Linked DNA regions of Homo sapiens: regions 1 and 2 are each linked to region 3. The links are contacts of gene promoters, found by promoter capture Hi-C in blood cells and fetal thymus (Javierre and others, 2016). All regions are on one chromosome and are shown on one strand. Each heading gives the region's core, a stretch centred on a gene start or on the middle of the fragment in contact. The rest is flanking DNA. Distances are from core to core; before and after follow the strand shown.

Region 1 (2,850 bases), core at 342-2,841, 310 kb after region 3:
ACCCCTCCCCAGGTTCAGCAGCTCCCCAGGAATCCTGGAACATGAGGCATGGCCTCAGCAAGTCTCCATTTGAGAGAATCAGCTGGGATCTCCCAGATTAAGTGTTGTTGCAGGCAGCTGGGCCAAACCGCCTGCCCTGGACCCTAGAGCTCATCAGATTGGCACCTGCTCTTCCCACACAGGCAAACACGGATGGTGCCACTGGCCGAACCCCGCCATCAGCCTTCACACAGTTGAGCTCACCAGGAAAGCAGAATCTCTAAAACTCCAGCTGCAGTGCAAGCCCAGCCCCCAGGGACACCGCTGTCCACATCTGAAATAGCTGGCGATCATCACGGGGTGGGAGACAGGATGCAGTGGGCACCTTCCACATTGAAACCCACTCAATTAAAACCCCACGTGTGGGGGACAGACACACACGTACCCATCACACCCAGTCTTACGTGTCCACTGAGACCCTGGTTACGTTAGACATGGCCTCAAAGGAAGTAGGTACTTTCACAAACATCATCTCCTTTGATCTTCTCAACCACCCTGAGGAGTATGTACTTTTGCCCCACTTTACAGATGAGGAAACTGAGAAGACATCAGGCAATTTTTCCAACATCACACAAAGGATAAGGAAAATGTTAGGATGCCAACCCCATGTCTCCAGGTTTCTTTCCACTACAGCATGCTGTTCATTTGTGATCTCGTTCATTCATCCATCCTTCCTTCCACTCATTCCTTCATTCACTCACCTATATTTTTCCCTAAACAGCTACAGGTCACCACTGTCTGGGTTGTTTGCTACTACCTTCTGCTGCTGCCTGAGAAAACCTGGGAGACTGTGATCACATTTTTTTTCCTGTAGAGCTGCCCGAATACAGCTCTTCTCAAAGCCTTGCAGCAGAGATGATACAGCCATCAGCAGCTGATCCTGGAATGAGTGTTGAGAGCAGCACAGACCACTCTACGTTTCTGCTCTGACCACAGGTCTGGCCTAGAATTTGCCCCTCCACTGCACAATGCAGGTAAAAACCTTTAAAAAAATAAATAAATGGTCTCTGAGCCTCCCAGAAATACAGCACTTAGAATGTTGTTTTTGGAGGGGGCATGTGATAAAGAATGGGAAAGATAATAAAGTAGCCTGTCACCCAGCTCACAGGCAGGTGCATGTGGCTGCAGGGGATCGTTTAGTCAATTTAATGACATATTTGTTGAGTATCTATTACTGTGCCTGGTACGGGATGGAGTGGGTCAGGGAATAGGGGAGGGCACAAAGGGAGTCAAAAAGAATAGAAAGAAAGCCGTCAAAGGGCTGATGGTCTGGTTGAGGGAAAAAGACAGGAACCATCTGCTTAGACAACACAGATATAAAGTGTACTTGAGAAATTCAGAGGATGGTAAGGTGCCTGCAAGTGGGGACACAAAAATTTCATTCAGACCATGGAATTTCAGCTAGACAGGGAAGGATGGCCAGAATTTAAACCTGGGATGGTATAGAAGAAAATTACCCAGGCCAGGCGCAGTGGCTCACGCCTGTAATCCCAGCACTTTGGCAGGCCAAGGCGGGCGGTTCACCTGAGGTCAGGAGTTCAAGACCAGCCCCGTCTCTACTAAAAATACAAAAAATTAGCTAGCCGTGGTGGCGCACACCTATAGTCCCAACTCCTCGAGAGGCTGAGGCAGGAGAATCACTTGAACCCAGGAGGCAGAGGTTGCAGTGAGCCGAGCACGCACCACTGCACTCCAGCCTGGGTAACAAGAGTGAAACTCTATCTCAAAAAAAGAAAAGAAATTACCCAAACTGCCTGCTCAACACCATTGCTAATGAAAAAGCCTGCCTTGGTCTCTCCTTCCCTGATCTTAGCTTTTCTTTCTATCTCTGCAAAGCCTCCGTATAGAAATCTGGTTTTATTGTGCCTGGTAAGGGTCCTAGTTCAGTTCTAAAACAATTAACAACCATGAAGGGACAAAAGTCCGAAGTGGGCATCTCGCTTATGGCACATCAGCCTCTAGTCATAGTCACCCTCAGACCCCATCTAGCGGCTGCCCGAATTATTTCATTCAGGGATCTGTGTGTTTGGCTGATAACCAGGCACCACTGGCCCGTGGGGTGCTATGACTATTGCAGTGTTAAAAACAAGGCACTTGGCTGGGAAGACGTCTGCCGTTAAGTGGCAGGCTCATGGACAACGGCCTCAAGGTATTTTTCCTTCAGACATTTGGTCCCACTTTGGCAAGACATCTTGGCATTGCTTGGGCAAGATATTACGCTCTGCTTCTTCAGAGCGTTGGGTGGGAGATACCCCATAGACAGCTGAAGGGACTGGGACCTTGGGAAATCACATTTAAAATTTTTGGACTTGTTTAAAATTGTTTGACTTGGTTTAAACACAGTTCAAAGCCCAGCTGAGGCATTAAGGGTTTGTCACCTAAGGTTGTCATCTAAAATGGGAAATGTGTGCTCTATTCCTCCTTGTGGCCCGGTAGGATGTATTCTGCAGAATTGGGCTGCTTTTAGCTTTGAGCTTGTGAAAAAGAAAAAGTTTTTTTTATTGCAATGCTTCCTGGCTATAATATTCCCTAGGACCTGGGGAATGGTAGCCAGGATTTGGATCTTTAACGTAAAGCCAAGAGCTAAAGAAAATTTTAGTTAGTTGTTAGTCATGGTGGACACATTTATTGGACAGGTGCAAGCCTTTCCCTGCCACACTGAGAGGGTTTCAAAAGCCTTACTGAAAGAAATTTTCCTCAGATTTGGGGTTCCATTCCCCATACACAGTGATAACGAGAGTGCCTTTATTGCCACTTTATTGCCACTTTTTTTTGAGACAGTGTCCCACTCTGTCACCCAGGCTGGAGTGC
Region 2 (2,797 bases), core at 163-2,662, 340 kb after region 3:
CTGATCTCAGGTGATTCGCCCACCTCGGCCTCCCAAAGTGTTGGGATTACAGGCGTAAGCCACCGCGCCCAGCCTCCCTAACACATTAGTGTATGGACTTCCACTCACTCCTCTCTAGTGTATTTTGGTTTTTTTCAAAAAATAGGATAATTCCTTAAATATTACCTTAGAACTGGTTTTTCTTCACTTGATATCATAAACATCTTTTCACATCAATAAGTTCATTTCTACAAATGTGTACATACAACTCTAGCACAATTTATTCAAGTAATACGCTACTGAACCCTTCAGTTTTTTCTCTTCCTTTTTTTCTATATGAGAAACAATTTAGTGAACATCCTTGTAGCTAAATCTTTGTTTGCAATATTCTGAGATAAAATGCATAAAACCCAAAATTTAACATTTTAACCACGTTCAAGTGTACAGTTCAGTGTTTTGTGTATACTCATAAGGTTGTACAAACATCACCACTAATTCCAGAACGTTGCCATCTCCCCATAAAGAAACTCCATACCTATTAGCAGTCGTTCCCAATTCCTCCCTACCCCCATTGCCTGGCAACCACTAATCTAGTTTCCGTCTCTATGGATTTGCCTATTCCGGACATTTCATATAAATGGGATCATATCACATTTGTTCTTTTGTGTCTGGCTTGTTTCACTTAGTATATAGTATTTCCAAGATGCATCCATGTTGTAGCATATATCAGTGCTTCATTCCTTTTTGGCTGAACTATTTTTTATGCCTGAATTAGTATTCCACTCTTTGGATGTACTACCACATTTTGTTTATCTATTCATCAGTTGATGGACATTGGGTTGTTTCTACCTTTTGGCTGTTGTGAATAGTGATGCTGTGAACATTTTTGGACGAGTTTTGATGTGGGCATATGTCTTCAGTTCTCTTGGGTATACAGCTAGAAGTGGAATTGCAGGTTCAATCTACGTTTAACATTTTGAGGAACCACCAAACTTTTCCACAGCAGCTGTGCCATTTTCCATTCCTACCAGCAATGCATTAGGGTTCTAATTTCCATCTGTGCCAATACTTATTTTCCTTTTCCTTATTATTATTGCCATTCAATTAGGTGTGGTTCTGATTTGCATTTCTTCAATAACTAATGAAGGTGAGCATCTTTTCATGTGCTTATTGGCCATTTATATATCTTCATTGAAGAAATGGCTATTTAAATCCTCTGCCCAACTTTTTTCTTTTCTTTTCTTTTTTTTGAGATGGAGTCTCGCTCTGTTGCCCAGGCTAGAGTGCAATGGTGCAATCTCAGCTCACTACAACCTCTGCCTCCTAGGTTCAAGCATTCTCCTGCCTCAGCCTCCCAAGTAGCTGGGATTATAGGCATGCACAACCATGCTCGGCTAATTTTTGTATTTTTAGTAGAGATGGGGTTTCACCATGTTGGTCAGGATGGTCTCGAACTCCTGACCTCAAGTGATCTGCCTGCCTCAGCCTCCCAAAGTGCTGGATTACAGGCATGAGCCACCTTGCCTGGCCTTTTTTTCTTTTTTTTGAGATGGAGCCTCACTCTGTCACCCAGGCTGTAGTGCAGTGGTGCAATCTTGGCTCCCTGCAACCTCTCTCTCCCAGATTCAAGGGATTCTCCTGACTCAGCCTCTTGAGAAGCTGGGATTACAGGCATGCACAACCACATCCAGCTAATTTTTTTTGTATTTTTTTTAGTAGGTACGGGGTTTCACCATGTTGACCAGACTAGTCTGAACTCCTGACCTCAAATGATCTGCCCGCTCAGCCTCCCAAAGTACAGGGATTACAGGCATGAGCCACCATGCTCAGCCCTTTGCCCAATTTTTAATTGGATTGTTTGTCTTTTCATTGTTGACATATGAAAGTTATTTATATATTCTGGATAGTATGCCCTTATCACAGAAACAATTTACAAATATTTTCTCCCATCCTATAAGTTGTGTTTTCACTTTTTCTTTTTTTCTTTTTTTTTTTTTTTTTACCTTTTCTTAAATAGAGTTGGGGTCTTACTATGTTACCTAGGCTAGTCTCAAACTCTCAAACTCCTGGACTCCAGCAATCCTCCTACCTTGGCCTCCCAAAATGTTGGGATTTCAGCTGTGAGCCACCAGGCCCGGCCCTTCACTTTCTTGATAGTGTCCTTTATACACAAAAGTTTTTAATTTTGATGAAGCCCAATTTATCTTTTTTTCTTTTGTTATTTGTACTTTTGGTGTCATATTTAAGAAACTGTTACCTAATCCAAGGTCATAAATATTTATACCTATGTTCCCTTCAAGAGTTTTATGAGCTCTTACATTTAGGTCTTTGATCCATTTTGAGTAAATTTTTTTTATATCATGTGATACTTCAAGTATCTACTTTGGATAGATTCCTAAAAAGTGGGCATATAATGCTTCAGGAGTGGTTTTGATTTGGGTTTTTTTTTTTTTAAGAGACAAAGTCTCAAGTCTTGCTGCATCTCCAAGGCTGGAGTGCAGTGGCACGATCATAGTTCACTGCAGCCTAGAAATCCTGAACTCAAGCAATCCTCCCACCTCAACCTCCCAAGTAGCTAGAACTACAGGTGCATGCCACTATGTTCAACTACGTTTTTTTATTTTTTGTAGAGACAGGGTCTTGCTATGTTGTCCAGGCTGGTCTCAAACTCCTGGCCTCAAGAAATCCTCCCACTTTAGCCTCCCAAAGTGCTGGGATTACAGGTGTGAGCCACCACACCAGGCCCAGTTTTAAACACAGAAGCTGAATTTCTAATTCCAGTCACAGTTCCATCATCAATGAGGACAAAAGAAGTAAG
Region 3 (2,713 bases), core at 93-2,592:
GCTCCTTCTCGGTAGACCTAGATTCTGTCTTCAGCCCTGTTCTCTGTACCTTTTCTACCCTCTCCCTCCACCTCTTGTGTCGGCCCAACTTCTTTCCAGATGATTCCAAAATTGACATCCCTTGCCTCAGTCTCTCCTATGAACTCCAGAATCACCCTTCCAATTGCATTTGCTGGATATCTGCCCCTGGAAGAAGGTGGCCTGCTTCTCCAATCCAACTTGCTCCACACTAAACTCAGTCACATCACTCCAGGTTCTCCTCCAGACTTCCACAATGTTACAGCCCCAGTGTGCTCCTCCTACACCACACAGTCTGTAGACTCTCCTTTGCTGCAGCTTCCGCATTCATCCCCCAGTTAAGGTCCTCATCTCACGGGACTATTGGAATCATCTCCTTCCTGTGTGGCCCCCCGCGAAGCCCTTCTCAGCAGCCAGCTGGGGTATTTAGAACGTTGGTGCTCCCGGTACAGTGGCTTTGTCAGCGTCCCCTGCCTCCAGTGGCTTCCCTGATCTAGCAACCTGGTAAATGGGTAATCTTCCTCACTGCAGCTAAGTTTCAAAAGAACACGGTTGGATAAGCACAAGGCCCTTGTTACTTTGGGAAATAGATAATCCATGCCCCACTGTTAGGGCCAGTCCCGTTAGGGCCAGCTTTGCACCTTCACAGGGACTCAGCAGGAACAGATGGGCTCTACTCTCTGTTATTCCTTTTTGCTTCAGATTAGAGAGACCTTGATTCTCCCCGGGGCCCAGGAAATGTAAAGCTGATGCTCCACAGGACTCTAAGAGGGACACGGCAGTGATGGGGGCTGGTGAGGAAGGGGGATGGAGAACCTCTCTCTTATCAGACAGGCTTGTCCCTAGGGTCCCTGGAAACCCCCAAAGGCCAACCTCTCCCAGGGGCCGACAAACGTAAAGGGCAGGGAGACCTAAGCGGGGAGCTGCGGAGCGCGGGGAGTTTGAAAGCCGCTCCACCGCCCTACTAGTCCGTCCTTTTGCCCCGCCCCCCTTAGGGATCCCCCCGGCAACCGCACAGCTGCCTCGGACTCTGACTTAATTCCCTCCGCGTGCTCTGAATCGCAGAGAGGCAAACCCCCAAACAAAGAGCCGGCAGCTCGCGTGCGGGGCTCCCGGGCGCGTCCTGCCGGCTGGGCTGGGAGAGCCGGCGCCGGGGCGTCGCGGCCGAGCGCTGGGCAGGCGGGGACTAGAGGGCCGGCAGGAAGCCTCAGTGGGCGCAGGGGCGCGGGCCGGGCTGCCCACACGCTGACCTTCCCGGGCTGGGAGGGAGGAGCGCTGGCTGCGGGCGGTGGGCGGCTGGGCGGCCCCGGGAGCCGCCGCTCTCAGTCTCTCTAGGCGCAGCTCCCTTCGCCGCTTCCGGAGCCCCTGGCAGGGTAAGTGCAGAAGCGCGCCCGAGGAGTGGGGGCGCCGCGGGAGGGGGCTGGGGGTCCAGGAGAGGCGCCTCCACCTCCGCTGCCCGCCCCGCCGGCAGTCCCGAGCTAGACTGTCCCGAGCTTCCCCCGGGCGGGCAGAGGGAAGCCGGCTGGGGATGAGGAGTGGAGGAGGCAGGAATGCCTGGGACACTCGCGGGGCATGTGAGCAGGTATTGGTGTCTGCATGGGACACGCAACACGGTGTCCATAACTATGCGCATGAGTCTGCCTTTCTGCACTTGTGCCTTGGGAGAGAGCTCTGGGCCTCTGAGGGCCTCGTGCCGTCCAGCGTGCCCGGGGCATGTCTGTTCCTCTTGAAAATGTCATTCTTTGTCCACCCTGAATTCGAGTAGCTGCCTCTCATGGCTACACCAAAATGCTGTATCTGGTGCACATTGCTTTCAGAGGGCCTGTCTGCCTGTGCAGGGATGTCCTCATGTTCTGGGCACGTCTGTGTATTTGTGACAACATGGCTGTGTAGGCCCTGTCACCTGTGTTTTCGTGCCCATCCCTGCATGTGCAGTTGGCCGGCTCCGTGTGGAAAGAAGGCATGGAAGGTTCTGGGGTGTATCCTTTTCACCAGCCATATGTGCAGTGTGCACATGTGTGAATTGGTGGAAAGTATGAAAGGGAGGCAGCCCAGTTGGGCTTGGCGGGACAGCATCTTAACTTGAGTCTAAGCTGCTGTGTGCAGGAGGAATAAGTGTTCCAGAGGTCTCCAGTTCGTGGCAAGTATTGTGAGGTGAGCGTGGGGGTGGGGGGTGAGGAGAAGAGGCAGCTTCTGGAAAAACTCATAAGTGCACTCTGGGGCATAGGGTGTGTGTGGGGGAGCGTGAAGAAGAGAATGAGGGTGGTATTAGGCCAAAGTGGATAGTCTGTGTTCAATTTGTGGGCAGCTGGATTGCAGTGGAAAGCAGCAGTTAGAGGCTGGAGACAGGTTTGAATCAGAACTTAATGGTTGTCACTGTGTCAGTAGCATTGTTCCCTGGACAGATAGGTCATCTGGGGCTCAGTTGCTTTTTGTGCAAAATGGGACTAATAACCACTGGCCCCATCTGTCTCCCAAGGGACTGGAGGCTCCAATTAATGCCTGGAAATGCTTTGATGATAGTTAAGACTCCTAGGGTAAGGGGCACTACTGGCCTACAGGGGCCAAGTTGGTGGTCTGGCGAGGGCTTAGGTGGCCCAGAGCTGTTTGGTTTGTGGGTAGCAGAGGGAGGCATTTGTGTGCTGTTTCCCACTATATTCAGCATAGCAGGAATTTTATACCCACCTTTGGACTC

Evidence for each region. Contacts are between HindIII fragments. The CHiCAGO score rates a contact against its expected background, and 5 or more counts as called.
Region 1: a fragment that was not itself captured here is called in contact with the fragment with the promoter of TSPAN11 in region 3 in 1 of 17 cell types (fetal thymus); the score reaches 6.0 in fetal thymus.
Region 2: a fragment that was not itself captured here is called in contact with the fragment with the promoter of TSPAN11 in region 3 in 1 of 17 cell types (fetal thymus); the score reaches 5.0 in fetal thymus.

The regions. Positions count from the first base shown.
Region 1 is chr12:31,236,956-31,239,805 of GRCh38, forward strand. No RefSeq gene overlaps it. Among named protein-coding and RNA genes, the nearest start is that of FLJ13224, 86 kb to the right of the region's middle. The HindIII fragment of the contact is 6,965 bases long and covers 1-2,850 here.
Region 2 is chr12:31,266,502-31,269,298 of GRCh38, forward strand. No RefSeq gene overlaps it. Among named protein-coding and RNA genes, the nearest start is that of FLJ13224, 56 kb to the right of the region's middle. The HindIII fragment of the contact is 8,159 bases long and covers 1-2,797 here.
Region 3 is chr12:30,925,406-30,928,118 of GRCh38, forward strand. It overlaps TSPAN11 (tetraspanin 11), which reads left to right and starts at 1,343. Exons shown (of 8, transcript NM_001370302.1): 1 at 1,343-1,391. LOC124902911 (a long non-coding RNA gene) reads right to left here and starts at 1,284. Exons shown (of 2, transcript XR_007063264.1): 1 at 1-1,284. The HindIII fragment of the contact is 3,619 bases long and covers 1-2,713 here.